Regions from separate parts of the Homo sapiens genome. Here region 1 is linked to region 2. Evidence: promoter capture Hi-C in human tissues and cell types (Jung and others, 2019). All regions are on one chromosome and are shown on one strand. The core of a region is centred on a gene start or on the middle of the fragment in contact, and the rest is flanking DNA. Distances in the headings are between cores, read along the strand shown.

Region 1 (3,897 bases), core at 795-3,294, 210 kb after region 2:
TGAACACAGGAGGTGTGGGTCACAGTGAGCCGTGATTGTGCCACTGCACTCCAGCCTGGGCGACAGAGCGAGACTCTGCCTCAAAAAAAAAAAGGAAAGAATAAAAGAAAAAATAAAAATAAAACAAAATAGAAATAATAATAGTATCTCTCTGCTATGGTTTGGATGTGGTTTGTTTGGCCCCAGCGTGTCTCATGTTGAAATGTGATCCCAGTGTTGGAAGTGGGGCCTGGTGGGAGGTGTCTGGATCCTGGTGGAAGGGCCCTTCTGGTAAGTGAGCTCTCACTTTGTTCTGCAAGAACTGCTTGTTAGAAAGAGCCTGGCACCCCTTCCTCTCTCTCCTGCCATGTGAAGCCTGCTTGCCTTTGCCTTCCCCCATGAGTGGAGGCAGCCTGAGGCCTCACCAGTGCAGATGCTGGCACCACGTAAACATGCAGAACCACGAGCCACATAAACCTCTATTCTTTCTAAATTACCCAGCCTCAGGTGTTCCTTTATGGCAATGCAAAACACACTAGGATCCTTCCTCATACAGTTGTTGGGCTCATTTTTATTAACACTTACATGGTAAACAGTATTATTTTATTAATAATAAATCGCCATTTATCAAGTGTTTACTTGGTGTCATTATGCCAAGTACAAGGCTGTACAGCATAGAGGTCAATGGCACAAACTCGGGTAGAGACAGGTCTGAATCCGGTTCTATCACTGACAAACTGTGTGACCTTGAGCAGGTCACTTAACTGCTCCAGCCCCCAGTTTCCTTATCTGTAAAATGAGTATAATACTCAGGAGTCGGCTGTGGGGCAAGTTAATGTGTGTAAAGCACTTAGACCAGTACTCTGGCCCATAAGTACCACGTAAGTGTTGGCTGCTGTTGTTTACTCAGAGCCTGGCAAGTCCCTAACCCTCAGTAGACAGGCTATGATGGGAGGGGTGCCCCTAGTGCTGAGGGAGGCACCTGCCAGCCCAGCTGGACAGTGGGGCTCGGGGCTCCCTCTAGCCCTCTGATGGACACAGAAGGAAAAAGCTGGGTGGAAGCTCAAAGACGCACTTGTGGGCTTCAGTGGGAGGGAATGAAGGTGGAACACACTCTTCTTTCATGGAGTCTGTTCCCCAACAAGAATCCCTTCGACACTGAGCTACTGGAAGGGTTAAAGTGAATACAACTTTTACACATTCTCCTTCAGAAGTCCCATGATGTAGAACTTCCCAGTGCAAAGCTTTGGCCAGATGCTGCAGGAACTCCCGTGCCTTCCCAAGGGTTCCCCACACACCCTGCCTCCTCCCTCCCTTCGGAAGGATGGTTTAATGGCTGAAGTGGGCTCTTAGCTACAAAGGCATGCTCTGAATCTCTCTGAACTTCACTTAGGTCATACACAAGGTTCTGTGCACCCAGTATACAAGGAGCAACAACAGCAAACAGCAAAACCTCTCTCTCAGCCGAGTCTCTCCGGGCACCGGTGTGTCTGGGCAGCCTGGCAGGGGCCCTCACCACTGGACCATATATTCAAAACACACCTTTACTGAGAGCCCAGGACTGCAAGGTTATAGGCACCAGGAGTCAACGAGACAGGAGATAAAGTTTACATCTCAGCAGGACACAGACAAACCAAAGTAAAAGATCGTGATAAGTGCTTTGCAGAGAATTTCAATAGGTAATAAAATAGAGGAGAAGGACAGACGGGTCCTGCTTCGGACTGGGTGGTTAGGGAAGAGCTCTGGAGAAGCAGACATTTACGTTGAAGCTGGAAAGACAAGAAAGAGGCAGCTGTGAAAAATCAGGAGGGAGAGCATTCTGGGCAGAGGAATGGAGAGAAACTCTGTGCAGCTAGACAGGAGTGAACAGGAGACGAGAGATGGGGTCTCGCTATGTGGTCCAGGCTGGTCTCGAACTCCTGGCCTCAAGCGATACTCCTACCTCAGGTTCCCAAAGTATTAGGATTACAGGTGTGGGCCACCAAGAGCTCTGGCCCAGAGGAGTGTTTTAAACAAAGGAGGAACAAGATGTCATTTACATTTGTGAATGATCCCTCTGGCTGCTCGTTAGAGATGGGCAGGGCAGGACCACAGAAGAAGTGGAGAGGATGACAGCCAGGAGGCTGCTGGACTCAAGACCTAGTTTAAATAAGGAAGCATTTACAGGACTCTCAAAAGGAATGGATGGGCATGGGGGTGTGGCCAGGGAAAGAGGAATTTTGGGCTTGAACCACTGCAAAGACAGTGCGTCATTTACTAAGATGAGGAAGATGGGGAGAGGAGCCGGTCTGGGCATGGAAATCCAGAATTCTGTGTTGGACGAGGTAAGCGTGAGATGCCATATGGTGACAGCTGAATGGGCAGCTGGGCAGCCGAGATGGGAACTGAGGGGAGGGGAAAGGACGGAGACACGAATGGGGGAAGTCAGCAAGAACTGGTGTGCAGAGCGAGGGGACTGTGGGACTGCAGGGCCCACCAGGAGCAGGGAGCCTGCCTGGGACAGGGCGTTGGACTCCCTCTCTACAGTCAAGCTTACCCAGAGGAGCCAGCAGAGGCCGAGGGGAAAGAAGAGCCTGTGAGGGTGGCAGGAAACACAGAAGAGTGGGGGCCACAGACGCCAGGAGCAGCTGGTGGCCGAGTGCGTGGACTCTCAGAATGGAATGATGGTGGACTTAGCAGCTTGGAGGTCATCGGTGACCTCGACAAGACAGTCTTGGTGGAATAGTGGGACATGGGGTGAACTTCTCGTCACCTCTTTCCCAATTCTCTTCCTCCTGAGGACCCCTCGTGTAGGCCAGAACTCAGGGAGTCACCCGGAGCCCTGCCTCCCTCACCCGCACCTCCTCACCCCTCCAGCGCTCCACTTCCCAACTCGCTCAACTCTGTCTCTGCTTCTCCGTCTGCTCCAACCTCAGTTTAGGCCACACTTCCTTTTCCTCGGGCTTCCAACTGGCCCTGACTGACTGCTCGGCTGCTACTCTCCTCTCCCCCAGGCCACCCGCAACAACTTCCCCAGATGGCTCTAAAATGCACATCTGACCCTGAGTCTCCAGTACTCAAGCCTCCTGACTCCCATCACTCTCAAGATGATAGACACGGCCGGACGCAGTGGCTCACACCTGTAGTCCCAGCACTTTGGGAGGCCGAGGCCAGCAGATCACGAGGTCAAGAGATCGAGACCAGCCTGGCTAACATGGTGAAACCCCGTCTCTAGTAAAAATACAAAAATTAGCTGGGCGTGGTGGCAGGCTCCTGTAGTCTCAGTTTCTCTGGAGGCTGAGGTAGGAGAATCACTTGAACCCGGGGGGCTGCAGTGAGCTGAGATCATGCCACTGTACTCCAGCCTGGGCGACAGAGTGTCTCAAAAAAAAAAAAGAGAGAAAAAGATGATAGACTCCGTGTCTAAACGACCCGACCCCTGCCTCCTCCAGCCCTTTCATCTCCCCTCACTCCTAAATGGTACCAGCATATACCACCCCGAAATATGCCTCTTTAGCATATGGATTCCTTAGATCTAAAGGTCTTTGAAAACCAGCAGAAGCAGAAGCTATTAACCTCCCCTAACTGCCTGAAAAGAGAGTACACATTTTCCCTTTCATAAAGGAAATTTCCATTTGTAAAGATATTTCTGCACCAGGAAGAGAGCTACTTCCACCCGAGAGACTCTCACCTGCATAGCAAGAAAACCCTTATTTCCCACACAGGTCCTCCCTCACCTTGCCTCCCACCCCAGAACCCCAAACCTCTTTTTCTTGATTTAGCCTAATATGGTATATACGCCTCCATCAACTGGCCACCTCCTTGAGCCACATTTTTCTTTGTACATTTAAAGCTGTTTTTTCTTGTTACTCTGTGTTTCATCAGAGGGGACAGGGAAAATATTTTTCTCTCCAACACTCCCCCATATCTGCCCCTCCA
Region 2 (3,668 bases), core at 915-3,414:
AGCTGGACGCTCTCCAGGCTGCTGAGATTGCGGAAGAGGGCACGGGGCAGGGCGCGCAGCCTGTTGCGGCGCAGGGACACCTGGCGCAGCTTGCCGAGGCCGCGCAGCAAGCCGTCGGGGAGGGCGGTCAGGCCGTTGGAGTGCAGGGCGAGCACCTGGAGCTCGCCAAGGCCCTGGAAGGCGCCCTGCGGAAGCGCGCTCAGCCGCGGGCTCAGAGTCACCCCTAAGTACCGCAGGCGGCTCAGGTTGCGGAAGGCGGCGGCGGGCAGGGTGCGCAGCTGGGTGCGGTTCAGCCACAGCTCCTGCAGGCCCCCCATCTCCCCGAAGAGCACCCCCGGGAGCTCTGCCAGCGGGTTCTCGAACAGAGTCAACAGAGTCAGATTGTGCGAATGAAGAAAGAGCGCAGAGGGGAGAAACGCAAGGTGGTTTCTCGAAAGCGTCAAAGAACTGAGGTTTGGGAGCCGGTCGAAGGCCCCGGGTGCGATGGAACGGATGTGATTTCGGTGGAACTGCAGCTCCGTCAGGGCGCCCAGGCTGTTCAACAGCCCCGAATCCAGAGACACAAGGCGGTTCGAGTGGAGCAGAAGTCTCTCGAGCTTAGCCTGTGCTCCAAGCAACCCCTTGGGCAGGTGGGTCAGGTTGTTTCCCGATAAATCCAACAACTTCAGGTTCTCCAGATTCGTGAAGAGACTGGCAGGAAGGAAATCGAGCTGATTCTGGTTCAGAGCGAGCTCCTGCAGGTTAACCAGTTTCTGAAACATGTTTTGGTCAATGCCCCTTAGCGCATTGTGGTCCAAAAACAACTGCTCCAGGAGCACCATCTTATCCAGCAGCGCACCTGGAAGATGCGTGATTTTGTTGCGCGACAGCCTCAGGGTTTTCAGTTTTATCAGGTCACTGAAGGTGCCGGGGGCAACGGCGGAAATGTGGCTGTCGGAGATCATGAGGCGCTGCAGGACGGTCATGCCGCTGAAGCTCTGGCTCTGCAGGACGCCGCGGCCCATTCCGAAGAGCAGGATGTGCGTGAGGTTGGTGGGCAGGCCTAGCGCGGAGATGCGCGCCACGTCGCCCCCCGAGCACTGCGCGGCGTCCCGGAAGACACACTTGCAAGCTGGCGGACAGGGGAAGGGCTGGGCGCGCAGAAGCCCGAGCACCGCGCACAGTAGAGTCCCCCTCAGCATGTCTGAAAAAGCAACCGTGGGAGTGTGGTCAACACACAGGAGCGTTCGCGCCTGTACTGAACCCTGGGATCCTGCACTTTGTGCAGAGGCACAATCCTTTCGCCAGAATTCTCACTCCCTCTTTTCTTAGGACTACAGATTTCCCTACGTGGTGAAAAGACACTCATTCTACACTGCGTGGCCTCATGCTTTTGCTTTATTGATTTTCCACTCTCAGTTTAAAGCATTGAGATTACAGAGTTTTCAAGCTACCGAATAGCCAATACTTTAAAGTCCTTACATAGAGAATTAAAATAATCATTCTCACATTCAAGCTCACAGACATCACAAAGCAATGTCCATTGTGAAAACGGCTCTGCTCTTGACTTTATAACTTACCCTGCATTGGCTATAACCAACAGTCAAGAAGGGAACAGCAAAGTCTGCAGCCACCACCATCTGATTCTTTTGCTCACAATCATGCTATTTCCACAGTACCAAGTTACTCTATTAAAGGACACCCCCAAAACAGCGAACACCTTCAATCAACAGCCAACAAAAGCATATAATAATACCTATCACTTTACGCCATGCATTGTTCTCAGCTCTTTATTTATACTACATGCATTTAATCCTTACAATAACCTTAGGAGGTAAGTATATTATCCCCGATTCAAGGATGAAGGCACAGAGGCACAGAAAGGCTCAACAGTATAACTAGGGTCACATAGAATTTGAGGGTAGTATTTCTGACTTAGCCATAAAGAGCTACTATTTCTAAGATGCTTAACTAAAGGTAATACTCACGGCACTGAATTTTCTGGGAAATGCACACCATACTACTAACCTGCCAAAACAATGTTTCCTAAGCGAAATTTTACATAAATTGCTTCTCGTGCAATTTTACTTCTCATGCACACACAGACTAAAGAGCCCTCTAATTTCCTATACTAATGTTTAAAATATTTGGCCTTACCTGAAATGGTTCTGCACTCCAAAGTAACTGAAAGACTTAGAGCTCTGCATGTGATTCGACACTTTCCACAGGAAGAGGGTGGTATCCTTGCATCCTGAGGATAAAGACTTTACCAGAGTAGGTCAGGAAAGGACCCTATCTCAGAGCCCTTGTTCTGGTTTTTAATGACAAATATCTTCAAACCGAGAGACCATATATAACCTGATTCCTACTGTCAAAGCCAAGAGCAGTGGGGAGAGTTTTTCCATAAATGGCACAATATAACTCTATGATGCCAGGGAAGTTCAGTGATACAGCTGGATCACTGCAGTAGCCACACCCCTAGATGGGCCACACTTCCCCTGGGTCTTCCTTTTCATGCCACATGGCCCTAATTTCCCACCCAGGTTTTTTTTTTTTTTTTTTTTTTTTTTTTTTTTTTTTTTGGTATGTGTTGTTTTTCTTTCTCCGCTTAGCAATAAAGCTAAGAACATTCTCAAATCCTCCATTTTTTTCTTCCTTTTGGGACTAATAAGGCTAAGAACATCTTTGAACTTGTTCAACAATGGCATTGCTAGGTTGCAGGATGCTCACTTGTTGTTTTTTTGGTGGGGGAGGGGGACTCTGTCGCCCAGGCTGGGGTGCAGTGGTGCGATCTCGGCTCACTGCAACCTCCTGCTCCCTGGTTCAAGCAATTCTCCTGCCTCGGCCTCACAAGTAGCTGGGATTACAGGCACACACCATCACGCCCAGCTAATTTTTTGTATTTTAGTAGAGACGGGGTTTTACCGTGTTGCCCTGGCTGGTCTTGAACTCCTGAGCTCAGGCAATCCGCCCGCCTCGGCCTCCCAAACTGCTGGGATTACAGGCATGAGCCACCACGCCCGGCCGCTCACATGTTCAGTTTAACTGGGGAAAGTCAAACTGCTCTCCAAAGTGGTTGTGTTGGTCTACGATGACACCTGCCATTTGTGAGAGTTCCTGTGCTTCCTCTCTGCCCACACGTGGCACTTCCTGCTTTTTGCCATTTCTATGAAAGATATCTCAGCATGATTTTAACTTTTCCTTTCCCTGTTTAATGATGAACTTGAACACCTTTTCACATAATTAAGGCCCACTTGTGCTTCATTTGAGAAAGCTGGGTTTCCTTTTGCCCATTTGTCTATAGGCAAAACGTGTCTACGTGTCTTTTGAACACACTGATAATGCTGTCTGCATTAAGACTTCCGGCCAGCCGCCCTGTCCGGGAGGGAGGTGGGGGGGTCAGCCCCCCGCCCGGCCGGCCGCCCCATCCGGGAGGTGAGGGGCGCCTCTGCCCGGCCGCCCCTACTGGGAAGTGAGGACCCCTCTGCCCGGCCAGCCGCCCCATCCGGGAGGTGGGGGGCGCTTCTGCCCGGCCGCCCCTACTGGGAAGTGAGGAGCCCCTCTGCCCGGCCACGACCCCGTCTGGGAGGTGTGCCTAGCGGCTCATTGGGGATGGGCCATGATGACAATGGCAGTTTTGTGGAATAGAAAGGCGGGAAGGGTGGGGAAAAAATTGAGAAATCGGATGG

What was found. Contacts are between HindIII fragments. The study calls those that stand out against the background at their distance.
Region 1: a fragment that was not itself captured here is called in contact with the fragment with the promoter of GP5 in region 2 in 3 of the 25 tissues and cell types used here (IMR-90 fibroblasts, bladder and stomach).

What each region holds. Positions count from the first base shown.
Region 1 is chr3:194,606,871-194,610,767 of GRCh38, forward strand. All of the region lies in intron 8 of TMEM44 (transmembrane protein 44), which reads right to left. LOC105374291 (a long non-coding RNA gene) reads left to right here. Exons shown (of 4, transcript XR_007096222.1): 4 at 1-129. Among named protein-coding and RNA genes, the nearest start is that of TMEM44-AS2, 24 kb to the right of the region's middle. The HindIII fragment of the contact is 4,521 bases long and covers 1-3,897 here.
Region 2 is chr3:194,397,102-194,400,769 of GRCh38, forward strand. It overlaps GP5 (glycoprotein V platelet), which reads right to left and starts at 2,165. Exons shown (of 2, transcript NM_004488.2): 1 at 2,137-2,165; 2 at 1-1,183. The coding sequence starts at 1,181. RefSeq lists a silencer at 66-115 and enhancers at 2,995-3,548, 3,549-3,668. The HindIII fragment of the contact is 10,737 bases long and covers 1-3,668 here.